Regions from separate parts of the Homo sapiens genome. Here all the other regions are linked to region 3. Evidence: promoter capture Hi-C in 16 types of primary human blood cells and fetal thymus (Javierre and others, 2016). All regions are on one chromosome and are shown on one strand. The core of a region is centred on a gene start or on the middle of the fragment in contact, and the rest is flanking DNA. Distances in the headings are between cores, read along the strand shown. Region 1 has its middle 7.3 kb from the start of CWC22. Region 2 overlaps CWC22 (CWC22 spliceosome associated protein). Region 3 holds the start of DNAJC10 (DnaJ heat shock protein family (Hsp40) member C10).

Evidence for each region. Contacts are between HindIII fragments. The CHiCAGO score rates a contact against its expected background, and 5 or more counts as called.
Region 1: a fragment that was not itself captured here is called in contact with the fragment with the promoter of DNAJC10 in region 3 in 1 of 17 cell types (non-activated CD4 T cells); the score reaches 8.2 in non-activated CD4 T cells.
Region 2: a contact is called between a fragment that was not itself captured here and the fragment with the promoter of DNAJC10 in region 3, in 1 of 17 cell types (naive B cells). The highest score is 5.2, in naive B cells.

What each region holds. Positions count from the first base shown.
Region 1 is chr2:180,013,071-180,016,093 of GRCh38, reverse strand. No RefSeq gene overlaps it. Among named protein-coding and RNA genes, the nearest start is that of CWC22, 7.3 kb to the right of the region's middle. The HindIII fragment of the contact is 662 bases long and covers 1,003-1,664 here.
Region 2 is chr2:179,994,465-179,997,206 of GRCh38, reverse strand. All of the region lies in intron 1 of CWC22 (CWC22 spliceosome associated protein), which reads left to right. Among named protein-coding and RNA genes, the nearest start is that of CWC22, 11 kb to the left of the region's middle. The HindIII fragment of the contact is 3,802 bases long and covers 1-2,742 here.
Region 3 is chr2:182,714,671-182,717,514 of GRCh38, reverse strand. It overlaps DNAJC10 (DnaJ heat shock protein family (Hsp40) member C10), which reads right to left and starts at 1,258. Exons shown (of 24, transcript NM_018981.4): 1 at 1,032-1,258; 2 at 443-499. It also overlaps a transcript of PDE1A not described here. RefSeq lists a silencer at 866-1,025 and enhancers at 587-1,191, 1,536-1,605, 1,626-1,775. The HindIII fragment of the contact is 1,821 bases long and covers 705-2,525 here.

The sequences.
Region 1 (3,023 bases), core at 84-2,583, 2.7 Mb after region 3:
CCCCTACAAAATGGCAGCAGCTGCCTCTCCTGGCATGGGGGCAACCTTAACTGACCTTATACATTTCCAAACACCCCCTTGAGGGTAAGTACTGCCCTCCCCACTGAACAGCAACAACAAAAACTCTAACTGATGCTGAGGTATTTCAGTAAAGCTTCTAGCGTGTCCAATCCATCCTTTCCCGCCTCCTCTCCAAAGTAGCATCTGAACTTTACAGGAAAAGGGATTAGTGAGACTTCTTTGATGAGTTCAATGTCCCTGGGTGCCTTGGTCTCCAAGGAAATGGTCGTTATTCAGCTTACTGACCTTCCCAGTAACGACAACAGCTGGTGTCATTTATGAGCTGGTCTCCACATATAAAGTCAACTCTTGTTCGTATATACTTAAATGAGAATTATTTTCAAATGTAACACTCCAAATACAGTCTTATTGCAAAATTGATTTGTCCAATTATACCCTGGTAAAAATGAAGACATATTCTTATTTATCCTATGCAAAAATTATATTGCTATGAAAAAGTAAAGAGACTTGTAAAAATAATTTTCTCAATTCTTATATGTCAGTGAAAATCAAACCCCAAAACACCAAGAGTCTACTTAATTGAGGATTTAAGATAGCTTCAGAAGAAAAAGAATCTGTTATGTATCTATGAAAAGATAGACCATAAAATTAATGCCAAAAATATTCTGAATAAACCACATTAAAATTTCCCTCATTAGCTTAAGTATGCTGTAATTAATTCTTAGTCCACTGGGCCTTGGATCAAGCAGTTGGATTTGATAAAGCATAACTGCTTCTGAACAGAAAGGGGTTCTGGAAATCCTGACTTTGTCCACTAGTACAGCCTGAAAGTTTTCTAAGCAATCTTATCTTGGAAGATTATACTCAAGACTATTCTTTGAAATATCCATAGTTCAGAGTACCTAGCACAGTCTTTTCTGCAGCGCTCTGAGATTATATTCTCTGGAGAAACAAAGCCTAGCCTGTTGTTTTAGGCAAGCTTCAGAGGGAAACAGAAATCTGCTTGAGAATTAGGCTGAATAGCTGTGATCGATTTATTATAATACCAATACTATCAGAATGAGTCAGAATAAAATTTTCCATTAGCATTTCATAAGTGTTTAATCAACACTTCCTATAAAGTGAGAACTTAATATAAACAGTGAGGGCAGTGATAACTCTCCAGAGTCTTCCCTTAAAATCTAAAATCTCTGAAATGTTTATATTAACTGAACCTAGGGGAGGCTGAGTATCTCTTCTGATTTGACAGTTCTTCCCATGCAACTCTTATAATAGTGTTGAGCTAGTTTAAAAATATGGAGCATACCAAACATATCTAATTACTTCTAGCATCTCCCTATGCTAATACCTATTGTGGCAGGCATAGAAATGCACCCTTCCGATGTTCAGACTTGTGGCCTCCAGCTGTTAACTCCTTCAGATCTGCCTCAGGGCCCGGGTCATACTCTTCTTGGGGTCACCCCAGCCAAAGATCAAGCAAGAATGTGGTATAATGATGTGTTAGTCTGTTTTATATCACTATGAAGGAATACCTGAAACCGGATAATTTATAAAGAAAAGAAGTTTATTTGGCTCACAGTTCTGCAGGCTGTATAAGCAGGGGACGGGCATCTTCTTGACTTCTTGTGAGGCCTCAGGAAGCTTTTACTCATGGCAGAAAGCAAAGGGAGAGCAGGCGGGTTACATGGCAAGAGAGAGAGCAAAAGAGAGCAGGAGGGGGCACACTCCTTTTTTTTTTGTTTTGTTTTTTAAACAACCAGCTGTCACATGAACTAACAGAGCAAGAACTCACTCATTTCTGTGGGGAGGGCACTAAGGCATTCATTTGGGATCTGCTGCCATAACCCAAACACCTCCCATCAGGCCCCACCTCCAACCTTGGTCGGGGAAGGGGGACCACATTTAAACCTGACATTTGGAGGGGACAAACATCCAAACTATATTAAATGGCCTAAAATTTCACCCAATGTAAGACTCTTCTAACAGGCAATCCTTACTCTGGACCTCTCTGTTGGGCTTTCAAAGACCTGTCAGATTTCATCATGATCTGCTGAGTTTTTCTGCTCAATCTTGCTTTCTGTCTTTTCCTTTCACAGGTATTACTTTCTAATACACTTTTGACACCCCTGTTTCTATCTCAGTATCTGCTTCTTAGAGGATCCAATTGATACAGTGATTCCAGGAATGATTCAAAAAAAAAAAAACAAGTGGTAAGTTGAGACTTTGACACTGGACCCCTCATTATCTGAATGACAAACAAGAGCCCACTGCAGGTGGCATATGGGGCACAGTTAGTCCCTGGCACAATATAGTAGCCCAGCTGCTAAAATACTTCACTGGTAAATAGTACTGGAACATAATACCAGATAAATAAGAATTTATTGACATTGGGGCACTCTCTTGGGATATAAGATTAAACTCGCTGGAAAGGATCTGAGGAGGTAGAGCAAATTTGCTGCTAGGGTACCTCTAGACACCTGGAGAAAGTGATGGCCCATGCTGAGGAAAACTGAAATGCCTAAATTGTCATTGCGGACAATGGAGGAAGGCAGTAAGAGGACCAGGAAAGCGGATATGCTGGAGTGGATGTGAGATCAGAAAGCCTACTAGAAAAAATTATTTTCCACAGGAGGCCATGAGGACACATCATTCCCCAAGGTCATCAGGAATTTGCTAGTAAGCGGGGCACCAACATCACCAAGACATCCAGCACTGGCTCTTCTCAACAGGTCAGTGCTGACTGTAGGAGAGGCTGTCATAGAACTTGGCTCCTTAGTAACAATGAGGATCATGGAGCCCAAGAGCAAGAGAGGTTGAAGTAAAACTTAATCCTCAATGCTGGGGGTGGGGTGGGTCACAATTATCATTGTGCCCAACAATGTCAGAGCAGCAGCTAAGAGAGAATTGTGAAGACAGTTAATAAAACATAGTGTCACTAGGAGCAAAATACATGGGCTTCCAATGAGGATGCTGCTTGATACATGCAATTAAAGGAAAGAATG
Region 2 (2,742 bases), core at 59-2,558, 2.7 Mb after region 3:
TTGGTCGCTAGTTCTATATACTATACATATATATACTCTGGCTACATATATTATAACCCCTCAAGACATAATTTTTGCTGTAAAGAGTCATATGTATTTTAGATAAATTAAAATAAAACAGTATCTTGTATTTCCTGAGAAAGTTATCATTTACAGTATTCTTCATTTCTTTCTGAAAAACAGTTTCCATCTAGCATCATTTCCCTTTAGCTTGAAGAACTTATTTTAGCATTTTTTGTAGTGCAGGTCTGCTGGTGATAAATTCTCTTAGTTTCTTTCTCTTAGTTGTTGTTTTTTGTTTAATCAGTAAATGTCTTCATTTTGTCTTCCTTTAAAGATTGTTTTTGCTGGAATTCTACGTTAACTTTTTTTTTTATCTTTTAACACTTTTAAAAATTGTTTCACTATTTTCAAGTCTCTCTAGTTTCTTTTTCAAAAATTTTGATATAAAATATATAGAGATGTAATTTACCATCTTTACCGTGTTTAAGTGTACAGTTCAGTGGTAATAAATACATTTATACTCCTTTTTTTTCCTTCATCCTCCACACCCCACTCCCCTTTCTGGCCTCTGATAACCGCCAGTCTGCTTTATCTTCATGAGATCCACTTTTTTAGCTTCTGCATGTAAATGAGAACATGGTCTATTTAGTTTCTGATGAGAAGTCAACAGTAATTTGAATTGTTATTTCCTTGTATATAATATGTTGTTTTTTTCTTTTCTGCTTTCAGGATTTTTCTCTTTATCTTTGGCTTTAACTATTAACCATTCTACTGTTAAGCGTATTCAGTGAATTTTTTATTTCATATATTTTTCAGTTTTAGAATTTCTGTTTGGTTCTATTTTATCGTTTCTCTTGGCTGAAATTTCCCAGGCATATTTTTCTTTGCATCGTTCCATATGTTTTAAAAACCATGCTTTAAAAACCTTATATACTAATTCCAGGATCTGGATCATCTCAGCATTGATCTGTTTTGATTGTCTTTTTCCTTAAGATTGGGCCACATTTTTTAAATGTTATTTTTAATTGTCTCCTGGATATTATTTTTATGTTATAGAGATTTTGGTTTCCTTACATTCCTCTAAGGAGTGGTGACTTTTTAGGCAGTTAACTTGGTTGGACTTAAATTGCAAACTCTAGTCTCTTGAGCAGCAGTTCAAATCTTAGTTCAGTTCTTGGCAGGAATCTGTCTTGTACATGTGTTGGTTCAGAGGTAGTCAGAGATGTGGGAACAATTTATACCCAGCATATGGGGTTCCCCTCCACTGACTCTCTCCCCTCCTGGATTCCCCCTCAGTTTCCAGCAGTTGTGGTTGCCTCAGACTCTGTCCTCTTGTTCTTCAAATGAGAATGGCTGCAGCTTTTCATCAGTTTTAGCCACCCTTGCGTGGTACAGACTGCAGCTTGCCCTCAGACTAAAGCTATATTAAATGGGATAACTCACTCATGTTGCTCCTTTCTCAAGGCATCTACTCTCCTCTAGACTCAGCCTGCTTTTGTTCATTCTCCAGTGCCTTCAGGTGGTTGTTGTATATTTTGTCAAGAGTTTATGGTTGTTACCTGTGAAAGGATTAGGTTCAGTAGGAACTTCCTAGCCATTTCAGAAGTGGAAGTTCAGTTACCGTTTTAAAAAATTTGTTCAGAAGTGCTACATAAACTACCCAGTGGCCCTGGGAATCAAAACACCCTTATTATTTAAGTTCTTAGAGGAAAACAGTGTAATTCTCTCTAGTCTCGAACCTCTCTTTCGCCTTTGAAACATGTTTTTTATTTGACTTTTGATAACATAGGCTTATTAAGATGGTAACTCTTGCATGATATCAGAATAGACTGTTTAAGGTAGAGGGGCATGCCTCTCCTCTCTGCTACCATCACAGAGTCTGATTTTATGAAGTGTTTTACGTAACTTATTCTGGATTTTCTCAATTATTTATCTAAGGTATAGCATCGAGTAGGAAAAGTTACTCTGAAACTAAGTTCAAACAATGATGTCATAGTTGTGGGCATAATAAGGTCCTAGATAGACTAGTCTGTGGGCATCAGGATTTAGGACCCAGAGTAATCTTTTTTTGTTTGTTTGTTTGTTTGAGACGAAGTCTCACTCTGTTGCCCAGGCTGGAGTGCAGTGGCACGATCTCAGCTCACTGCAAGCTCCGCCTCCCAGGTTCACGCCATTCTCCCACCTCAGCCTCCGGAGTAGCTGGGACTACAGGCGCCCGCCACCACGCCTGGCTAATTTTTTGTAATTTTTCAGTAGAGACGGGGTTTCACTGTGTTTGCCAGGATGGTGTCAATCTCCTGACCTTGTGATCCACCCACCTCGGCCTCCCAAAGTGCTGATAAACTTTAAAAAGATACATAAAGAAAAGATTGGGGGACAACTTGCCAGCTGAAAACAAGGCTGAGCTTTCTAAACAACTGCAATAATAACTAATTGAAGAAAGAGCCTGTTAATAAGCGTATTATGTAAAGTTACACACATTTGTCTCTTTAACTGTAAGCCTCGTACATAAGCAGTGATGTGCTTTAGATTGTAGTTATATTTTATAGATTGATAAGTTTGCCTTTACTAACCTTGACACCATGCCAATCATTGTAATAGAAACATTTCTTGACTTAGTAATTCGTATACATCCCCATCTGCATTAAATGACAGCCGCTCTGTATCACTTTATAATGTCAAGACTATTTGTATGTGTGTGCCAGTGAAAGGAATACTTAACAGGGTGTCCTTATGGTA
Region 3 (2,844 bases), core at 9-2,508:
GGAGGGACTAGAAGGAAACATAGGGTTTTTTACTTCTCATATAACCCTACCAGAAATGACAGTGAAATATATTGTTATAATAGACAATCTACACAGCAGTCGATCTTCTTCCCGGAGTTTCCTCAGAAGGTGCTTATACTGAATTTAAGTAGAGGCCATTTTTTAAAAATAGTAGAAAAACAATTGTAAGTTACCAGTGTAATTTTATTGCAAAGTTCATGTTTGGTGTAAGTAGAAACAAAACACAAAAAGAGAAGGGAATCGGTTATTTAGACATACTCTCTGCAGGGCAAAAACAATCATTACTTCATCATATCACATTTCAACCACTATATTTTAGTTCCAAAGAGATCGTAATGCTTTGAAAAATCTAACGCTCCTCGCACCTCATTTCTGTTTTTCATTTAATCCTAAATGTATATTTAAAAATTTTTCTCTTTACCTGTGAATGGTCTTCAGCTCATTTCTAATACTTCCTTTTCATTCCACAAAAATATACCTTTGAAAAATATAATGATGTAGAGATTAACAAGTATCCAAACAAGAAAACAACCATCAGAAAAAGAGAGGGCATAGTCTCAATCAACACTTTGGGATAAGATGTTTCTCGCCCAGGGGTTGTTCTCAGCGTGGGTGTGGCCGAACTGCCCGTGGCCCGAGCTACCGGGCAGGTGGAAGCGCCAGGTAAATGCAAGGCGCAAGCTTTCGCATTGCCATCACTGCAGAGTGGGAGAGGGGAGAGGGGTAAAGATGAAGACACGGGGGAACAGGGCTGTTAAGTGTTGCTGGTGTCTGAAGTCTCAGGTCGGACTTAGGGAGAAAGTGTAAGTAACTGAGAGGGAATCGCTGGGCAGAGGAAGGGTGGTGTGAATAACAGGGAGGAGGAAGGTGGGGAGCGAGAACACAATATCCAGGTCTTAAGAGCGCACAGGAAGGGAGGTTCAGGCGCTCAGCCATTCCGCCCCTCCCTGACCGGAGGGCCCAGGCCACCACCGGCTCCAGCAAAGCCCTAGCCCCGGGCCCATGCCCACCTTGCCATCGCGGGGTCGCTTCCTGTAGCTACTCCCCCATCCTCAAACCCTGGCGGCGGACCCCGCCTGGCCGAGCCCAAGCACCGCGTGCAGGAGAGAAGCACACGCACTCTCCGACGGCCCAGCCGCGGCGCACGGGATTGGTGAGGTGCAGCCACACCGGCGACTACCAGCGCGCGGCCGGTACCGGTAGGTTCCTCACGCGCCGGTCTCCACGGCGAGCCGGGGCGGGGCCTGGCGCGGAGCATTGTGGGAAAGGCGTGGAGGACGCTGCCTGGGGAGACCCGCTGCGGGCCCAGCGGGCGCTGCGGCGGTGGGGTGGAGAGGGCGGTGTAGGTTTAGGTTGACGTGGCGGTGTGCGCGGGATCCGGCTCCGGCTCCGGCTCCAACCCGGAGCTGAGGGAACTGCCCTGGCCAAGCAGCCCGCGCCCCCTCACCAATGCGGCCGGCGCCTGCCGCGGGCGGGGAGGGTGGATGGCGAAGCCCGCCTCTTCCTGCTTCCGTTGCCAGGGTGACGGGGAAACCCAGAGGGTGGGTTTTGGGGTTGAGTTCCCTGAGAGTCTTTTAAAGGGAAGACGGAGCTTTGGAGGATTTGTCTGGGTGATGGGTGGGTGAGACCGAAAGGCGAAATTTGGCGGAGAAAGGAGAAGTTGCCTGAAGCGACACTGATTGCAGTATCAGGCTAGCGGACTGAAGAGGCAGTAGGAAACTTGAAGGAAATTAAAACATTTACAATTTTGTGTAAGCGTGTGTATCAACAAGCATTTGAGACTTCTACAATATTTTCTGGATTCTGAGTCATACAAGCTAGAAACTGGGGAGTTATCGTTGTTCTCTCTTACCTTGATCTCCTACTGCTATGGTACAGGAACTGCATTTTGTCCCACAGCAATATAACAATTGAAGTGGTTATATTTACTACATTTTCTATATTTAAAAGAGAAAACCGAGCCTAGAGGATACCTGCTTATAACATCAACCCTAACATGAAATAAGTTGTGATTGGTAACAGTTTCGGGGAGTAAATCAAGTGTCAGCTTCTAAAAACTTGGAAAACTACACAGGATCTATGGCTAAGCTAATACTTGGTAGGAAAGAAGAGGAAGTAGAATGAACAAAGGCAAACATTAGAAGCAGCCTGATGTAATAGTAGTTAATATGTCTCAGGAACTGGTCTAAGCACACATGTAGTAACTCATTTAGTCCTCCAAATAATCTTACAAGATAGTGGCTCCTATATCTATTTCCCATTTGAGGAAACTGAGGCAAATATTTGAGAGCTAGGATTCACATCTAAGCAACCTGGCTTCAGAGACTATGATGTTAAGCATTATGACACAGTGTGTAACCATTTTGTTACACACTGTAACAAAATCTTAAAGTAAATTGAAAAACAAACAGAAAACTGGAAGATGAAGCAGGGACCAGATCACAGACAGGTTTTTATACCAAGATGAAGACATAGATTTCTATCTCTTAGGTGATGAGGAAGCTTTTAAAAAAGAGACTGAGATTGTATTTTAGATCATCCTGGCAGCTATTGGAGAGAGGATGCAAAGCATACAAAACTGGAGAAAGAACAGGAGAATGTTAGACAAATAGGGTAAATGCTTTAAGAGGTGGTGGGCCGGGTGTGGTGGCTCACGCTTGTAATCGCAGAACTTTGAGGGGCTGAGGCGGGTGGATCACTTGAGGTCAAGAGGTCGAGACCAGCCTGGCCAACGTGGTGAAATCCCATCTCTACTAAAAATACAAAAATAAGCCGGGCATGGTGGCACACCCCTATAATCCCAGCTACTCGGGAGTCAAGAGA